6 separate regions of the Homo sapiens genome follow, and all the other regions are linked to region 4. Evidence: promoter capture Hi-C in 16 types of primary human blood cells and fetal thymus (Javierre and others, 2016). All regions are on one chromosome and are shown on one strand. The core of a region is centred on a gene start or on the middle of the fragment in contact, and the rest is flanking DNA. Distances in the headings are between cores, read along the strand shown. Region 1 overlaps NIM1K (NIM1 serine/threonine protein kinase). Region 2 overlaps NIM1K (NIM1 serine/threonine protein kinase). Region 3 has its middle 14 kb from the start of NIM1K. Region 4 holds the start of CCL28 (C-C motif chemokine ligand 28). Region 5 overlaps NIM1K (NIM1 serine/threonine protein kinase). Region 6 overlaps NIM1K (NIM1 serine/threonine protein kinase).

The links. Contacts are between HindIII fragments. The CHiCAGO score rates a contact against its expected background, and 5 or more counts as called.
Region 1: a contact is called between a fragment that was not itself captured here and the fragment with the promoter of CCL28 in region 4, in 1 of 17 cell types (erythroblasts). The highest score is 5.2, in erythroblasts.
Region 2: a contact is called between a fragment that was not itself captured here and the fragment with the promoter of CCL28 in region 4, in 4 of 17 cell types (erythroblasts, M1 macrophages, megakaryocytes and 1 more). The highest score is 8.3, in erythroblasts.
Region 3: a contact is called between a fragment that was not itself captured here and the fragment with the promoter of CCL28 in region 4, in 5 of 17 cell types (erythroblasts, M1 macrophages, megakaryocytes and 2 more). The highest score is 9.6, in erythroblasts.
Region 5: a fragment that was not itself captured here is called in contact with the fragment with the promoter of CCL28 in region 4 in 4 of 17 cell types (M1 macrophages, erythroblasts, megakaryocytes and 1 more); the score reaches 8.1 in M1 macrophages.
Region 6: a fragment that was not itself captured here is called in contact with the fragment with the promoter of CCL28 in region 4 in 3 of 17 cell types (erythroblasts, M1 macrophages and megakaryocytes); the score reaches 6.5 in erythroblasts.

Annotation. Positions count from the first base shown.
Region 1 is chr5:43,269,389-43,272,088 of GRCh38, reverse strand. All of the region lies in intron 2 of NIM1K (NIM1 serine/threonine protein kinase), which reads right to left. Among named protein-coding and RNA genes, the nearest start is that of HMGCS1, 43 kb to the left of the region's middle. The HindIII fragment of the contact is 776 bases long and covers 1,014-1,789 here.
Region 2 is chr5:43,230,065-43,232,764 of GRCh38, reverse strand. The region is part of intron 1 of NIM1K (NIM1 serine/threonine protein kinase); the gene reads right to left. It also overlaps the pseudogene TUBAP14. Among named protein-coding and RNA genes, the nearest start is that of NIM1K, 39 kb to the right of the region's middle. The HindIII fragment of the contact is 583 bases long and covers 994-1,576 here.
Region 3 is chr5:43,177,111-43,180,028 of GRCh38, reverse strand. No RefSeq gene overlaps it. Among named protein-coding and RNA genes, the nearest start is that of NIM1K, 14 kb to the left of the region's middle. The HindIII fragment of the contact is 3,514 bases long and covers 1-2,918 here.
Region 4 is chr5:43,411,053-43,413,851 of GRCh38, reverse strand. It overlaps CCL28 (C-C motif chemokine ligand 28), which reads left to right and starts at 1,461. Exons shown (of 3, transcript NM_148672.3): 1 at 1,461-1,599. The coding sequence starts at 1,536. The HindIII fragment of the contact is 1,630 bases long and covers 952-2,581 here.
Region 5 is chr5:43,194,878-43,197,577 of GRCh38, reverse strand. The region is part of intron 1 of NIM1K (NIM1 serine/threonine protein kinase); the gene reads right to left. Among named protein-coding and RNA genes, the nearest start is that of NIM1K, 4.0 kb to the right of the region's middle. The HindIII fragment of the contact is 159 bases long and covers 1,243-1,401 here.
Region 6 is chr5:43,211,563-43,214,262 of GRCh38, reverse strand. All of the region lies in intron 1 of NIM1K (NIM1 serine/threonine protein kinase), which reads right to left. Among named protein-coding and RNA genes, the nearest start is that of NIM1K, 21 kb to the right of the region's middle. The HindIII fragment of the contact is 4,233 bases long and covers 1-2,700 here.

The DNA of each region.
Region 1 (2,700 bases), core at 152-2,651, 140 kb after region 4:
AAGAATCTACATGTCCTCAGCTGGTGAATGGTTAAACAAATTGTGGTACCTTCATACGTGGAATACCACTCAGCAATAAAAATGAACCAACTATTGATACAACAGTTTAGATGAATTGCCCGAGAAGTATGGTGAGTGAAAAATGCCAATCCTAAAAGGTTACTACTGTATGATTTCTTGTATATAATTTTCTTGGAATGACAAAATTATAGAAATGGAGAACGGATTAGTGGCTGGCAGGAGTCAGGGACAGGGTATAGGGGGTTAGGAGGTGGCTACAGAAGAGCCACTTGAAGGGCCCTTGTGATAATGGACTTGTCCTGTATCTTTACTGTGGTGGGGAATATAACAACCTATTTATGTGATAACATTCCATAGAGTTAAAATACATACACATGCATGAATACAAGAACTGGGAAAATCTTAATAAGATCAGTGAATTAGATCAATATTAATATCAAGGTTATGACTATAGTTTTGCAAGATGCAAGTTTGTGTGAAACTGGGTAAATGGTACATGTGGTCTCTGTACATATTCTTACAACTGCATGTGCATAATAAAACATTTTTGAGCACTACTCTAATATATGTATACGTATTTATAAAGTGTATCCATGTACTACTGATTTACACATTTTCAATATATATAATCACAGAAATTAAAAATATATAATCACAAATAAATATAAAAGGAAGTTCTAGTATTTTTTTTCCTCATCCCAGTGAATCATCTTGGGCATTCTCTGGGGGTATATGCACCCTCAGAGATGACTGACTTTGAAGAATTGAAAGAAGAAAGTAGGGCTGGCATACGGGGAAGAAGGAAAAATATAAGCCAAAAAAGAGGCTGGAGAGTTGGCCACACCAAGGTCTTGTGAGTCATTTCACATTAAGGGCAGTAAGAAGCATGCTATTATTATTTTTGCCTATAAAAAGGTATTTCACATATATAAATTAAAAACCCACAAACTTAAAACTGCCACTTGAAAAAAAAAAAGAAGCTGCTGGAAGCTTGTAAGTAGGTAGTTACATGATCAGGCTTGTAATTTCTAAAACATCACCTCTGGCTGCTATGGGGGAAATGATATAAACATGAAGACAAATTACAGTAGCTTAATCCAATGAGGAAAGGAGGAGATATTTAGGAAGTGAAATCAATACCACTTGGTGTTTGGGTGTTAGGGGTTGAGGAAAAGGTCAAGGTTTCTCAGTTGAGCAACTGGGAGGCTGGTGACATTCACTGGAGGAGGATCTCTATTAATGTTATCATGCCTTCGGGCACTCCCTAAGTTCCCCTGTCTCTCTCCCAGGTTGTTGAGTTCACTTTGCTAAACCATGACTCTGGTTAAATCCAGCTTCCCACTACTCTCTGCCTGCACCCATGCTGTTGGACATAATGGCTTGTCTCACTTTGAATTTCTGGTCACTAACTTCAGTTGGCCCTTTAAAGCGCCTGGCAGACATACTTTCCCTAGTCCAATAAACCTCATACACTTTTGTATAACTCTTTCATGGCTTCTTTTCTCTCATCAAGTCTCTAATGCCTTCTTCCACTCCTCATTCACAGCTGGTAACCTTGCTTCCTACTTTATTGAGTAAAATAAGCAATAGAGGAGAATTTCCTCAAGTCCTTCCCACCATGTCTTCCAACCTACTGGAATCTCTCTTCCTTCATTTTACTTTGGATAAACAATTCCTACTCCTATCTAAGGCCTAGCTAAGACTCCTTTACATGTTGAATAGATTCCATCTACTCTCATATACTAAAGAGCAGCCCTCCAAAAAAGCTTTCTTTCTTCTCTCCTGCATCAATTTTCTCTTCCCACTGGATTGTTTCCATCATCACACATTTATGTCATTGATAAAAATCTTCCCCTCAGCAGAAACCTTACAAGCCAGAAGGGATTGGGGTCCAATCTTTAGCCTCCTTAAACAGAATAAGTGTCAGTCAAGAATTTTGTGTCCAGCAAAACTAAGTTTCATAAATGAAAGAGAAATAAAGTCTTTTCCAGACAAGCAAATGATGAAGGAATTTGTAACTACCAGACCAGCCATACACAAAATTCTAAAAGGACTTCTAAATCTTGAAACCAAAAGTTGACATGCATCAGAATAAAACCTCTTGAAAGCATAAAACTCACAGGGCCTATAAAACAATAACACACACACATGGCCGGGCACGGTGGCTCACACCTGTAATCCCAGCACTTTGGGAGGCCAAGGGGGGTGGATCACGAGGTCAGGAGATCGAGACCATCCTGGCTAACATGGTGAAACCCCGTCTCTACTAAAAATACAAAAAATTAGCCAGGCGTAGTGGCGGGTGTCTGTAGTCCCAGCTACTCGGGAGGCTGAGGCAGGAGAATGGCATGAACCCAGGAGGCGGAGCTTGCAGTGAGCAGAGATCTCGCCACTGCACTCCAGCCTGGGTGACAGAGCAAGACTCTGTCTCAAAAAAATTAAAATAAAAAAATAAAAACAATAACACACACACACACACAAAAGGATCCAGGTAATAATCAACATGATGAGGAGAATCGTACCTTACATCTCAATGTTAATATTAAACATAAATGGCATAAATGCTCCACTGAAAACATACAGATTGGCAGAATGGATAAAATATCACAAACCAAATATCTGCTGTCTTCAAGAGACTCATCTAATGCATAAGGATTCACACAAGCACAAGGTAAAGGG
Region 2 (2,700 bases), core at 36-2,535, 180 kb after region 4:
GTTTTTCCACAGCTTTGGTGAAGGAATTGGTTCTGGGTTCACCTCCCCGCTCATGGAACAACTCCCGGTTGATTACGGCAAGAAGTCCAAGCTGCAGTTCTCCATTTACTCACCACCCCAGGTTTCCACAGCTGTAGTTGAGCCCTACAACTCCATCCTCACCTCCCACACCACCCTGGAGCACTCTGATTGTGTCTTCATGGTAGACAATGAGGCCACTTATGATATCTGGCATAGAACCTTGATACTGAACGCCCAACCTATACTAAACTGAATAGGTTGATAGGTCAAATTGTGTCCTCCATCACTGCTTCCCTGAGATTTGATGGAGTCCTGAATGTTGATCTGACAGAATTCCAGACCAAGCTGGTGGCCTATCCCCCCATCCACTTCCGTCTGGACACATATGCCCTGTCATCTCTGCTGAGAAAGCCTACCATGAAACAGCTTTCTGTAGCAGAGACTGCCAGTGCTTGCTTTCAGCCTGCCAACCAGATGATGAAATGTGAGCCTTGCCATGGTAAATACATGGCTTGCTGCCTGTTTTACCGTGGTGACATGGTTCTCAAAGACGTCAATGCTGCCATTGCCACCATCAATCAAGACCAAGTGTATCATCTAATTTGTGGTTTGGTGCCCCCTGGCTTCAAGGTTGGCATTAACTGCCAGCCCTCCCACTGTGGTGACTGGTGGAGACCTGGTCAAGACACAGAGAGCTGTGTGCATGCTGAGCAATACCACAGCCATTGCTGAGGCCTGGGCTCACCTGGACCACAAGTTTGACTTGAATGTATGTCAAGAGTGCTTTTGTTCACTGGTACGTGGGTGAGAGAAGGGAGGAAGGAGAGTTTTCTGAGGCCAGTGAGGACATGACTGCCCTTGAGAAGGATTATAAGGAGGTTGGTGTGGATTCTGTTGAAGGAGAAGGTGAGGAAGAAAGAGAGGAATACTAAAGTGAAAACGTCACAAAGGTGCTGCTTTTACAGGGAAGCTTATTCTGTTTTAAACATTGAAAAGTTGTGGTCTGATCAGTTAATTTTTATGTAGCAGTGTATGCTCTAATATACAACTACTGACCTATGCTTTAAAACATGAATGCTTTTGCAGACCCAGACTGTCCATTTCTGTGATGGGTTTTAAAAACAATAATAATAATAAATGTTTTTTAAAAGTGAACAAATATGTAGTAACAATCTGAACTAACAGAATAAATAATACTTTTAAAAAATCTTCATATATATGGAGATTTAATATGTAATAGAGGTGGCATTTGAGACCACTGGGAAAAGGTAAACGATTCAATATTATGATGCTTGCAGGGGCTAAACCAAGAGATGGCTTCAGCTTTCACACCACCACAAATTCTTCATTAGCCCTCATTCTTTGACACACATAAGAAAATTATACATTTATAAATATAGATATATAGATATAGATAGAGGAAGAGATAACTAGAGTTTCACTCTGTCACTCAGGCTGGACTGCAGTAATGAGAGGATGGCTCACTGCAGCCTCGATCTCCTGGACCCAAGCAATCCACCCAACTCAGTCTCCTGAGTAGCTGCGACAACAAGCTTGTGCCAACATGCCCAGCTAATTTTTTATTTTTTGTAGAGATGGTGTCTCACTATGTCGCCCAGGCTGGTGTTGAACTCCTGAGCTCAAGTGATCCCCCAGCCTCAGCCTCTCAAAATCCTGGGATTATAGGTGTGAGCCACAGCATCCAGCCAAGAAAATAATATATTTTTTGATTAGTGTAAAGTGCCATGCAAATACAGAGGCTCATGCCTCTTCTAGTAATATTACTATTCCAAGACACACCCATATAGAAATGCTGGAGTCACTACTGGGTGTCAGGACAGACCATGTGCATATGCACGTAGTGCGTACTTGTACATGCACAAAAAAAAGCTCTGGTAAAATGCAGATTGAACTAGTGGGTGACAAATGGGGAAGGAGTGTGAGGTACAGAATTGGGGAGGAGTGAAAATGACGGTGATGGGGGTTGTTATCCCCCCTTCATCTGTTCTTTCTTCTATAGCAGTGGTTCTCAACCTTAACCTGCATGAAAATCACCAGAGAGCATTCAAAAAATGCAGAAGTCTAGGCCCTGCCCCCCAAATATTGTGATTGAATTGGCCTGTGGAGTGGGAGGTGTCTATTTGTTTAAGTTTTCCAGGTGATTCTGTTGTGCAGCCAAACTTGAAAACCACTATTTTATAACAGAGAAGTTTTAGCTGGGCACATTGCTATCCAACTGAGGACTGTATTTCCCAGTTTTGGCTATAGTTTAGTTTGGCCATGTATCTGAGTTCCAGTCATGGGCTGTGAGCACAAGTGACATACGTGACTGCCATGTTGTGACCTTTAAAAAAAGAAGCATGACCTCTCGCCTCTTCCTTCTTCCCATCTTCCTGCTAGCTAGAATGTGGACACAGTGGGGTAAATGGAAACAGCCACCTTGGACCAAGATGGAAGCCATGTGCTGAGAATTGCAGAGCCACCGAGAAGGAGCCTAAACCCATCACTACACAGTCACCAGATCAACCCAGGATTGCTACCTTGTATATTATGATGTGAGAGATATAAGATTCTATCTTCTTTAAGCCTTTATTGTTTCAACTTTTGTTATGGCAACCCAATGTTTGTGCAAGAGGGCTTTCATTTCTTACTCCATTTGTTTCTGGGTTGTTTGAAGGT
Region 3 (2,918 bases), core at 230-2,729, 230 kb after region 4:
AGATTTCAATCAGCATGGGAACACAGACAGACTATTTCTACAAAAAATGCAAAAAGGAGCTGAGTGTGGTACACGCACCTGTAGTCGTAGCTACTCAGGAGGCTGAAGTGGGAGGGTTGCTTGAGCCCAGAAGTTAAAGGTTGCAGTAAGCCGAGATTGTGCCACTGCACTCTAGCCTGGGTGACACAGCGAGACCCTGTCTAAAAAAAAAAAAAAATATTTATAGGGACATGTTGGGTTGCAGGAAGGGCAAAGAGAAGATTGAATTGCAGGAAGGGCGAAGAGAAAAAGATTGAATTCACATGCTGCCTTCTTTACCATGTCAATAGAATTAATGAAGTTACATTTGCAGGGCAGGGAGTAGAGTTTTAAGAAGTTCAGACTATTATGACAGCCTCTGGTTTTTTTTTGTTTGTTTTTTATGGGTTTTAAAGTAATAAATATCTAGGCTTCTAACTATGAAGGATTTTATTAACTGATGGGGTGATGAGGGTTTAATTCCTTCTTCTCATTTGAATTCTTCATGACAAATCCTGTAAGAGGTATAGCACAGCTCAGCAGATTACACAAGAAAAACAATCTAGATCTCCCTCTCCTGATGTAATTAACACAAAGGTCAGTGTTAACCTAATGAATTCAAAGCTATTAGTTTTCTCCAACAAAATCAGACTAAACTTTCTAGGTCAGGCATTTGTTTGTAATTTTGCATCTAAGAGTTATAAAATACTTTTTGTGTGACTAGTTTAATGATCATAGAATCACTTGTTTAAAACAACCAACCCATGTTAAATTGAAAATGCGAATTAAAATCCACTTGATTGGTAAAGGTATCTACATTTAGGCCTCACTCTATGGCTTAATAAGCCTGTTGGCTTATTCAAACTATGAAATGGGTAGTTAGTCCAGAGAACTTTCATGGACCCTTCCAATAATGACATCTTTAATTCCAAGTTCAAACTAGTGGGAGCAGAAGCATTCAAATTCTCATGAAAATGTCCCTACATTCAGTATTATCTGAGTATGGTAGCCTTTTTATTTTTATTTATTTATTTATTTATTTATTTATTTTGAGACAGAGTCTTGCTCTGTGGCCTAGGCTGGAGTGCAGTGGCACGATCTCAGCTCACTGCAACCTCCATCTCTCGGGTTCAAGCGATTCTCCTGCCTCAGCCTCCTGAGTAGCTGGGATTACAGGCATCCGCCACCATGCCTGGTTCATCTTGTATTTTTAGTAGAGATGGGGGTTTCACCATGTTGGCCCAGGCTGGTCTCGAACTCCTGAACTGGTGATCTGTCCACCTTGGCCTCCCAAAGTGTTGGGATTACAGGCGTGAGCCACCGTGTCCAGCCAGGTAGCCTTTTTAAACTGGTAAGACTACAAGAGCCTTCTGATTTTGTACATATCCAAAAGATGTCTAGCTTTTAAATGTATTGCTAATGTATTCAGTTTAGTTTTTCTTTCAATCTCAAATGATAGGTGTGGTGTAATTAAAAAAAAAAAAAAAATAGGCCAAGCACGGTGGCTCATACCTGTAATCCCAGCACTTTGGGAGGCTGAGGTGGGTGGATCACCTGAAGTCGAGAGATCGAGACCAGCCTGACCAACATGGTGAAAACCCGTCTCTACTGAAAAAAAAAAAATTAGCCGGGCATGGTGGCGCATGCCTGTAATCCCAGCTACTCGAGAGGCTGAGGTATGAGAATCGCCTTAACCTGGGAGGTGGAGGTTGCAGTGAGCAGAGATCGTGCCATTGCACTCCAGCCTGGGCAACAAGAGTGAAACTGTCTAAAAACAAAACAAATAAAATGGATTTGGGTTTTTCTCCCTGGTTCCTTGCACACAGCTCCAAAAATCCTTGTAATTTCCAGAATGTCTTTTGTTATTCATTACAAGCCCCTTTTGATCTTACCAGTTTATGCTAATGAGATGACTACTGGCAGAGGGCCCCTAGATAGCTTCAAGATGGGCACGGGTCACTAGAGGAACCAGTTGTATTAAAGGGCTACAACTATTACCCCCACCCGAGACCTCCAGGGAGAAGAGGGGCTGGAGATTGAGCCCGGAGGCCAATAATTTAATGAGTCTAGGTTATAAAATGTCAGTAAGGGAGCTTCTGAGTTGAACACATCAACATGCTGGGAAAGTGGCATGCCAAGTGAGGGCAGAGAAACCTCTACTATTCTCCTCCACAACCCCCTCCATCCACCTTACTCTATGCATCTCTTCCATTTGGCTGTTCCTGAATTGTATACTTACTGTAGTCGTTAAGTATAGTGCTTTCCTGAGTTGTTTCAATGCATTATTGAACTTGGGGGGATGGGAAGGCCATAAGAACCCTAAATTTACGGTTGGCTGGGCAGAAGCGCGGGTAGCCTGTTGATCGCATTTGTGGCTGGTGTCTGAAGTGGGGGCAATTTTGTGGTACTGAGCACTTAACTTGCTCTAAATCTGGGTGGTGTCAGATTCAATTGTTGGACACCCAATTGATGTCTGAGAATTGCTGTTGAAACGGAGTAGAGATAGAAAAGCCTCTCATCGTTCTCAGTGCACTTGGGACTTATTTCTATGTGATCATCATTGCACACTCTACTGTCCAACTTGGTACCTCATACTGTAGACTTATCTTAAAACTCCAGTACAAATACAGTAGAACACTGGAGGACTAAATATCCAGTTTGCTTCAGTACTTGAAGCAAATATACATCAGTTGTTAACAGCTGTTTTATGTTCTACATAAAGTGCTTTCCAACTACAAAATGTTATTCAACATACAGTTTATCACCAGTAGATAGTTTTCCTCTACTTTTGCAATCAAATTTACTGGCATTCTGGGTACACTGATAGCTTCTATACCTTTTGGGAAAAGAAAAATGAACTATATCTGCATCTCAAATCTACCTCGAAAGGTCTTGACAAA
Region 4 (2,799 bases), core at 212-2,711:
TAACAAGGGTTATGGGAGTTATAAGCCAGGAACCATGGATAAAAGCCAATATATATATCATAACACCACAACCCGAGACTGAGCAATTTATAAATAACAGAAATGTATTCTCTTACAATTATGGAGGCTGGGAAGTCCAAGATCAAGGCTCCAGTGATTTCAGTTTCTATTTCCAAGATGATGCCACTTTGCTGCATCTTTTGGAGAGAAGGAGCATTGTGTACTCACCTGGCAGAAGAGCAGAAGGTACCAACCCATTCCCACAAGCCCTTTTTATAGTAGCATTCATCCATTCATGAGGGTGGAGCCATCATAACCTAAACATTGTCCATTAGGCCCTATCTCCCAGCACTATTAGGGATTAATTTTCAACATGAGCTTTGGAGAAGAAAAAAATATTCAAACCACAGCAGTAATTTGAAAACATAAAAAGAAATGGGTGAAATTAATTTTAATAATATATTTTATTTAACCCAAAAAGTCCAAAATACTATCATGTAATCAATAAACAGTATAAACATTATTAACAAGATATTTTATATTTTTTTCTGTACCCAGTCTTTGAAATCCAGTGTGAATTTTATACCCATAGTACATCTGAGTTTGGACTACTCATATTTCAAGTGCTCAAGAGCCACATGTGGGCTAGCGGCTACCACATAGGACAACACAGTTCTAGAGGAAGCATGGCATGACTTTGGAGGTCATCTAGTCTGACTTGTTATTTACAGCAAAGTTAAGTACGTTGCCTGAGGTTATACAACTTATTAGTAGATGAGGAACAATTAGAATCCAATTATCTTCATGCTACCCCATGCTTTTATTCACAAAGCTGATTGGCAGCAAAGCTGCACTAGCGCTCATGCCTCTTCACACCTGCTCTTGGGCTCTTTTCTACAAGGCATTGCCCCCCTTCCTGTCTTTCTCCTAAATAAGCTATTGTAAAAAGCTTCACTGGAAACAATTTGGCTGTGAACCAAGACTAAAGTGGGGTTTAATACTTCCATATCTTTCCACAAAGATACATTTTTTATGACTTGTCACCCTTGTCCCCAGAAACTCATGGTTTCCATAAGCTACTTAAAAACTGATTATGCAATGGGTCTCAACATAAGTGTCCATCAGAATCACCTATAGAGCTTTTACAAAATTCAAATGACTGGTCTCCTACCTGGGAGTTCTGGTTTACAAATCAGGGAAAGGGGAGAGTCATTTAGATTGATTTTTTTTAATGTTCCCCAAATGATTCTGATGCACACCCCACCTCACAGTGACCCTGCCAGCTGCCAGATCTCCATTGACATCCCCTGACCCCCAGGCAGGATGAACACAAGTTAGGAGCTTAATAAGTCGAGGAGGAGCCTGGTCTTAAGGAAAGAAACATGAGAAATAGATACCCTGAACACCTCCCAGGGCGGGGCCACCTGGCTTACTTTTCCTCTGCACTTTCTCTGTGCCCAAGGACACCTTTAGCCTCATTTCCTGATCGAACAGCCTCACTTGTGTTGCTGTCAGTGCCAGTAGGGCAGGCAGGAATGCAGCAGAGAGGACTCGCCATCGTGGCCTTGGCTGTCTGTGCGGCCCTACATGCCTCAGAAGGTGAGTGGGGGCACTGGACACTTAGGCCTTCACTGGAAAGGGGGGTATCTCCCAAATCTGTGCTGGAAGGATTGAGGTGGGGCAAGAATATCTATCTCTTCAAGCAGGAATTTCCAATTGATTTCTGATTACCTACAAGAGAATGACATAGCTTTAAATTCTAGATCTCCCAGAAGTTTCAGGAAGGAACCTCATTCTAACAGGCATACTACAAATTTTTGCCACCTGGAGGATGAGGTCCTTCCATGTAGGTACAACTTCGAGCTATGTTTCCTTTTCTGAAGACAGTATCTTAGAAAATCCCCAGCTAGAGGCTGGAGTAAAGCCCCTACTATTCATCTGTCTTCCTCCACACCCCAACCTGCTAAACGGTCTGAACACAACTGTGCACATTCCTGGAGGGAAATACAGACTTGGCCAGCTGCGTTCAAATTAGGTAAGTTGTAAATTTCCTGAGCAAAGTCAGCTCTATGGATACAGAAAACTGAAACTTCAGTCTGACCTTTAAAAAGGGAGGGCAGAGCTGAGCACAGTGGTGCATGCCTGTATTCCCACCTACTTGGGAGGCTACGGCTGGAGGATAGCTTCAGGCCAGGAATTCAAGATTGCAGTGAGCTATGATCACACTGTGAATTGCCACTGCACTCTGAATTGCCACTGCACTCCAGCTTGGGCAACATAGTAAAACCCCATCTGTTAAAAACAAAAAGAGGGGAGGGGAGGGGAAAGAGAAGGAAAGGAAGAAAGGAAAGGAAAGAAAGAAAAAGAAGAAAAGCAGGATGAGGGAGATTGAACCATACAAATTATGTCAAAGAGAATTTAAATCGTGAGTTGCTAGCATGTATTTGGAGATTGTAACTGCATTTGAACTAGAGGGAATCTCTTCTAAAGTAGCACTCACTACTATATTCAGGAAACCCTAAGTGTCAGTACTTAATACTTGACCAATGACTCTTTTCCATTGTCATCTTTTCTTTAAGCTTTATCCTGAACAGATTCTCTAAGTCTAGAGCAGAGGTGGAATATAAGTCTTTGGTCTGCTTTTTAAAAATCTGAGCCAACATTTTAAAACTGAAAGCTTTCTCATGTACATACTCATACATACACACATACAAATTGGATTTTAAAGCTTCTCTTGAGAAATCAGATGTGGCAACAATGATTCCACCATACCATGGCAAGAACTGGCTAAAGCAGATG
Region 5 (2,700 bases), core at 73-2,572, 220 kb after region 4:
GGCGCTGTTGATTACATCTGAGGGAGTATTTGGCTACATTTCAAATTTCCAAAAAGTTTAAAAGGCTCTTTAAAAATCTTCATGATTAAAAATGACTAAGGTGTATTTTATTAGCCAAGAATAGAACTAATTTGGCCAGGCGTGGTGGCTCACGCCTGTAATCCCAGCACTTTGGGAGGCCAAGGCAGAAGGATGGCTTGAGGCCAGGAGTTCAAGACCAGCCTGGGCAACATAGAGAGGCCCGCCCCCCCTACCACCGACAACTCTACAAAAATAAAAAACTTAGCTGGACATGATGGTGCATGCCTGTAGTCCCAGCTACTCTGGAGTCTGAAATGAGAGGATCACTTGTGCCCAGAAGTTCTAGGCTGCAGTGAGCTATGATTGTACCACTGCACTGTAGTCTAGGTGAGTGAGATCCTGCCTCTAAATAAAACATAAAAATAAATAAGTCAATAGATTCTGTCCAAAATTGATAAATCAAGAACCAGTGGCCAGGCATGGTGGCTCATGCTTGTAATCCCAGCACTTTGGGAGGCCAAAGTGAGAGGATTGCTTGAGCCCAGGAGTTTGAGACCAGGCTGGGCAACATAGTGAAACCTTGTCTTTACCAAAAAAAAAAAAAAAAAAAAAAAGCTGGGCATGGGCATGGTAGCGTGCACCTATAGCCCCAGCTACTCAAGAGGTTGAGGGGGAAGGATTGCTTGAACTCAGGAATTTAAGGCTGCAGTGAGCCATGATCACACCACTGTACTCTACCCTGGGCAACAGTGTGAGAACCTGTCTCAAGAAAAAAAGAAAAAACAGCAACATAAGCTAATTATTTGGACATAGGGAGGTAAGTGATCAAACAGCCAAGAGTTCAAAATGATTGCCTCTGGAGACTGGGACTGTTGTTTTAGTTATAAGCTTTTATTTTTTATTTATTTATTTATTTATTTTTGAGACAGAGTCTCGCTCTGTCGCCCAGGCTGGAGTGCAGTGGCGCGATCTCGGCTCACTACAAGCTCCATCTCTCAGGCTCAAGCCATTCTCCTGCCTCAGCCTCCCGAGTAGCTGGGACTACAGGCGCCCACCACCACACCTGGCTAATTTTTTTTTTTTTGTATATTTAGTAGAGACAGGGTTTCACTGTGTTAGCCAGGATGGTCTCGATCTCCTGACCTCATGATCCACCCACCTCGGCCTCCCAAAGTGCTGGGATTACAGGCGTAAGCCACCGCGCCCAGCCAGTTATAAGCTTTTAATATACTCTCATAAAATTAGGTGAATGCATTGTGATGATAACAATTTGAACAATTTTTTAAAGTAAAAAGAAAAATTTCAGTGCAATTATGTAATCAAGTGTATCCATATATTATCCCAACTAGATAATTCCAACAAATAGAGACACAGAAAGCTTCTTGATGGCTTTAGGATTAGGGAGAAAAGATCTAATGAGCAGCTAGTTCAGGAGACCCGAAAAGACAGCTGCCTCAGCCCACACCACTTGGATGGGTGGCAGGGAGTCAGAATGAACTAAGATCTGCCGCTAAGGCCTCCCAAGTCACACGATTTTGCTAAATAGGGTACTGACTGCTTTCTGGAAAACCATCAGTGTTCTCTGTGGAAGATGAAGAGTGGAGTTCTTCTTAGTTTCCTATTCTGCAACTTCGTTTTCCTTCTGTGCAACCCTCTTTTCACTTGATGTTTTCGCTTTTACTTTCTTTCTATTAATCTGCTTTCTCCTTACAGTTTTTTCCCCTTAACAGTTTTATTTTGCTCTCTAATCTTAAATTCTTCCCGCTATCCATGCCCTGAATTTCTCTTAAGTCTTGGCTAATGCTCATATTCATAATGCTCATGTCAGACAATTTAGATTTTTGTCTCGATTTTCCAAGTGGTTAGCTGAAATCACTTTTTTTTTTTTTTTTTTTGGATTCAGAGTCTTTCTGTGTCTCCCAGGATGGAATGCAGTGGCATAATCACAGCTCACTGCAGCCTTGAACCTCCCAGGCTCAAGCAATCCTCCTCCCTCAGTCTCCCCAGTAGCTGGGACTACAGGCATGCACCACCACACCCAGCTAATTTTTAAAAAATTTTTATAGAGACAAGGTCTCACCATGTTGCCCAGGCTGGTCTCGAACTCCTGGGCTCAAGCAGTCCTTCTGCTTCAGCCTCCCAAAGTATTGGGATTACAGGCCTGAGCCACGGCACCGACCTATCACTTGGCTTTTGAACACAACTTGTCCATCTGTAAAACTGATTAATATTCCTCAGGATGCTGTATAATAATGGCTAAGCTAACCTTGAAGTTCTTGAGAGAAAGTAATTTAAGAACTATGATGTGGTTAATTCAAGTTGTAGACTATTATCTTCATAAGCAATTTGAATATTTTCTTCTTCTCCTGAAAATTAAAACTTCAATTCTAGAGACCTTTTTCTAGAATGACAATAGGAAATGACAAAATACAAAATGAAACAAATTTTATGAACAGTTTGTCCTTTCAACAAGTGAAAGAAAATCAACCAATGAATTAAAACTCTTTAATCCCTAGAGAAATACAGTGATCAGATTCAAAGAATGAAGTTGGATTTAATGTTATATTTTAATTTTTAAGTTTCTCAAAATGAAACTATATATGTGACAAAAACATTAACCTACTAAGACAAAAATCTTTGCTTTTGTTTTTTTAAAAATGTATGATAAGTCTGTCATGC
Region 6 (2,700 bases), core at 58-2,557, 200 kb after region 4:
AAGGGCTAAAAATATGCATATATCTCTACTGTGATCTGGGAATGTGGCCTGTCTCTGATAACCATGTGTGTAAAAGTGAGTGAATCCTCCCTGATACAGTCAACTGGCTCAGATGCCTGGGATGGTCGAGTCCAGCATTCCAAAACTGAGATATTTTTGGCTGGGTGTGGTGGCTCATGCCTGTAATGCCAGCACTTTGGGAGGCCGAGGTGGGAGGATTGCTTAAGGCCAGGTGTTCAAGACCAGCCTGGGTAAAAAGGTAAGACAAAAAAAAAAAAAGAAAGAAAGAGAAGAAGGAAGGAGAAAGAAAAAAGAAAGAAAGAAAGAGAGAAAGAGCTAGGCATGGTGGCTCCAGCCTGTAATCTCAGCACTTTAGGAGGCTGAGTTAGGCAGATCACTTGAGATCAGGAGTTTGAGACCAGCCTGGCCAACATGGTGAAACCCATCTCTTCTAGAAATACAAAAATTGGCCGGGGCAGTGGCTCACACCTGTAATCCCAGCACTTTGGGAGGCCAAGCTGGGTGGATCACCTGAGGCCAGGAGTTCAAGACCAGCCTGGCCAATATGGCAAAACCCAAGCTCTACTAAAAAAATACAAAAATAAGCCGGGCGTGGTGGCAGGCACCTGTAATCCCAGCTACTCTGGAGGCTGAGGCAGGAGAATCACTTGAACCTGGGAAGTGGAGGTTACAGTGAGCAGAGAATGTGCCACGGCACTCCAGCCTGGGTGACAGAGCGAGACTCCGTCTCAAAAAGAAAAAAAAAATAGCCAGATGTGGTGGTGCATGCCGGTAATCCCAGCTACTTGGGAGGCTGAGGCACGAGAATCACTTGAACCTGGGAGGTGGAGGTTGCAGCGAGCCAAGATCGTGCCGCTGCGCTCCAGCCTGGGTGACAATGAATGAGACTCCAACTAGAAAAGAAAAGAAAAGAAAAGAAAAGAAAAGAAAAGAAAAGAAAAGAAAAGAAAAGGAAAGGAAACAAGAAAGAAAAAGAAACAAGAAAGAACAAGAAAGAAAGAAAGGAAGAAAAGAAGGAAAGAAAGAAAGAAAGAAAGAAAGAAAGAAAGAAAGAAAGAAAGAAAGAAAGAAAGAAAAAAAGAAAGAAAGAAAATGGAGATTTTTTTCAAAGTTTTGAATCCAGAAATAGGAGGACTTAGAAAAAATGATATCAGGCACCAAATAAGTGGTTGAAATGGTGGCATAGTTACCAGTTGCCTGAATACACCCTCTGGCAAAGGTGGATGCTTAAATATTGATGAAAAACAGTAAATGGCACATATGGGAGCCCATATTCTACTCTGCACCTGGGCGAACACAGAGGGGAAGCTGAAGCTATAATTGAGAATATATCTGGTACACATTCTAAATTTGCTTTTGTTTGCTCTTGAAGTTAGGGCTTTGAGGCTCTTGAAAGGAAACAGTGCAATGAACACTAGACCCAAGTGCATGGTGAGAATATGCTTCCTAACAGAGTCTTTGGTGCTCTAGAACATTCAGGAGCAATCGCAGTGATATATTTAGCTGCTGCCTGGGGCCTTGTTCCCAGACGTTTAGAGTTGGTGTCTCTATCAGGCTGCATCTTCTGCTTTTGTCACTGAGCCACAGTCCCAGAGTGACTGAGGGGACTGAGTTATCTTTGTACACAGGAGCCACTAAAAGGAGGAGGACTAGAGATGGGAGGAAGGAATGAGGGAGTCCTGCTGAGCCCTCCTCTCCTGAGCCCCAGGGTTGCTTCTGGAGCCTCATGACGACGGTGCTGAAACCATGGTATGTTACAGGCTGACTCTGGTCCTGAGCATTTTAAAGACTGTGGAGGGATTTATTTTTGGTCCTCACGTGAGAGTATTTAAAAATCCCTATTGGAGCCTGGACTAAGCTCAAAGGATAGAGGGCCTCTGCAACAGGAACAGGTTGGGACCATTCCTGTCTGGGAGGAGACCTCTGCCATGTGTTGGGAAGGATAAGGAACAGAAACCCAGAAATGATGTGCGATCCGTTGGCCAAGCAGGAAACCTAGGTGCCATTCCTGTCCTCTACCTTCCCCTCACCCAATCCTGTTGATCCTCCCACTTCCACACCACCCCAATCCTTTTACATTTCCATCCTGGGATCCCACAGTAGGTAGAGATGCACATGCTTTAAGGCACCAGCAGACCAGGCGCATCCAAGAGAGGCGGAAATAAAAGTCTTAAAATACTTTTATATTCAATATATATATTTCTCAATGCATCTAGGTAATCATCCTAAGAAAAATCCGAATTTTGTTTTTGTTAGTCTTATATGGTTAGCTTTGCTTGAATTTTGAGTTGCATGTGTGGTTTGATGAAGGGTCTTAATCCCATTCTGTGCCTAGGTGGCTTTAAGAACCTTCTAGCAGGCTTCCCTACTTCCCATCTTAATTTTATTCCCAGCTCAATTTTATTCTCCAGCAAACCACTTGTGTGATTATTCCAAAATGTAGATTTTACCACAGTACTGTCCTGCTTAAAATCCTTCATTAAAATGTCTGTAGGATAAAATTAGATTTCCATTGCATGGTCTAGAAAGCTCCTCAAGATCTAGTTCTTGGCTTTATTTCTAGCTTCATTTCTCATCTCCCCTGTTCCCACTTACCCCCCTCCATATGCCCTATATTTGAGATGTCTCCAAGTACTTGAGGTCTCACAAACATCCTGTTGGGGCTTAGCAGCCAATATT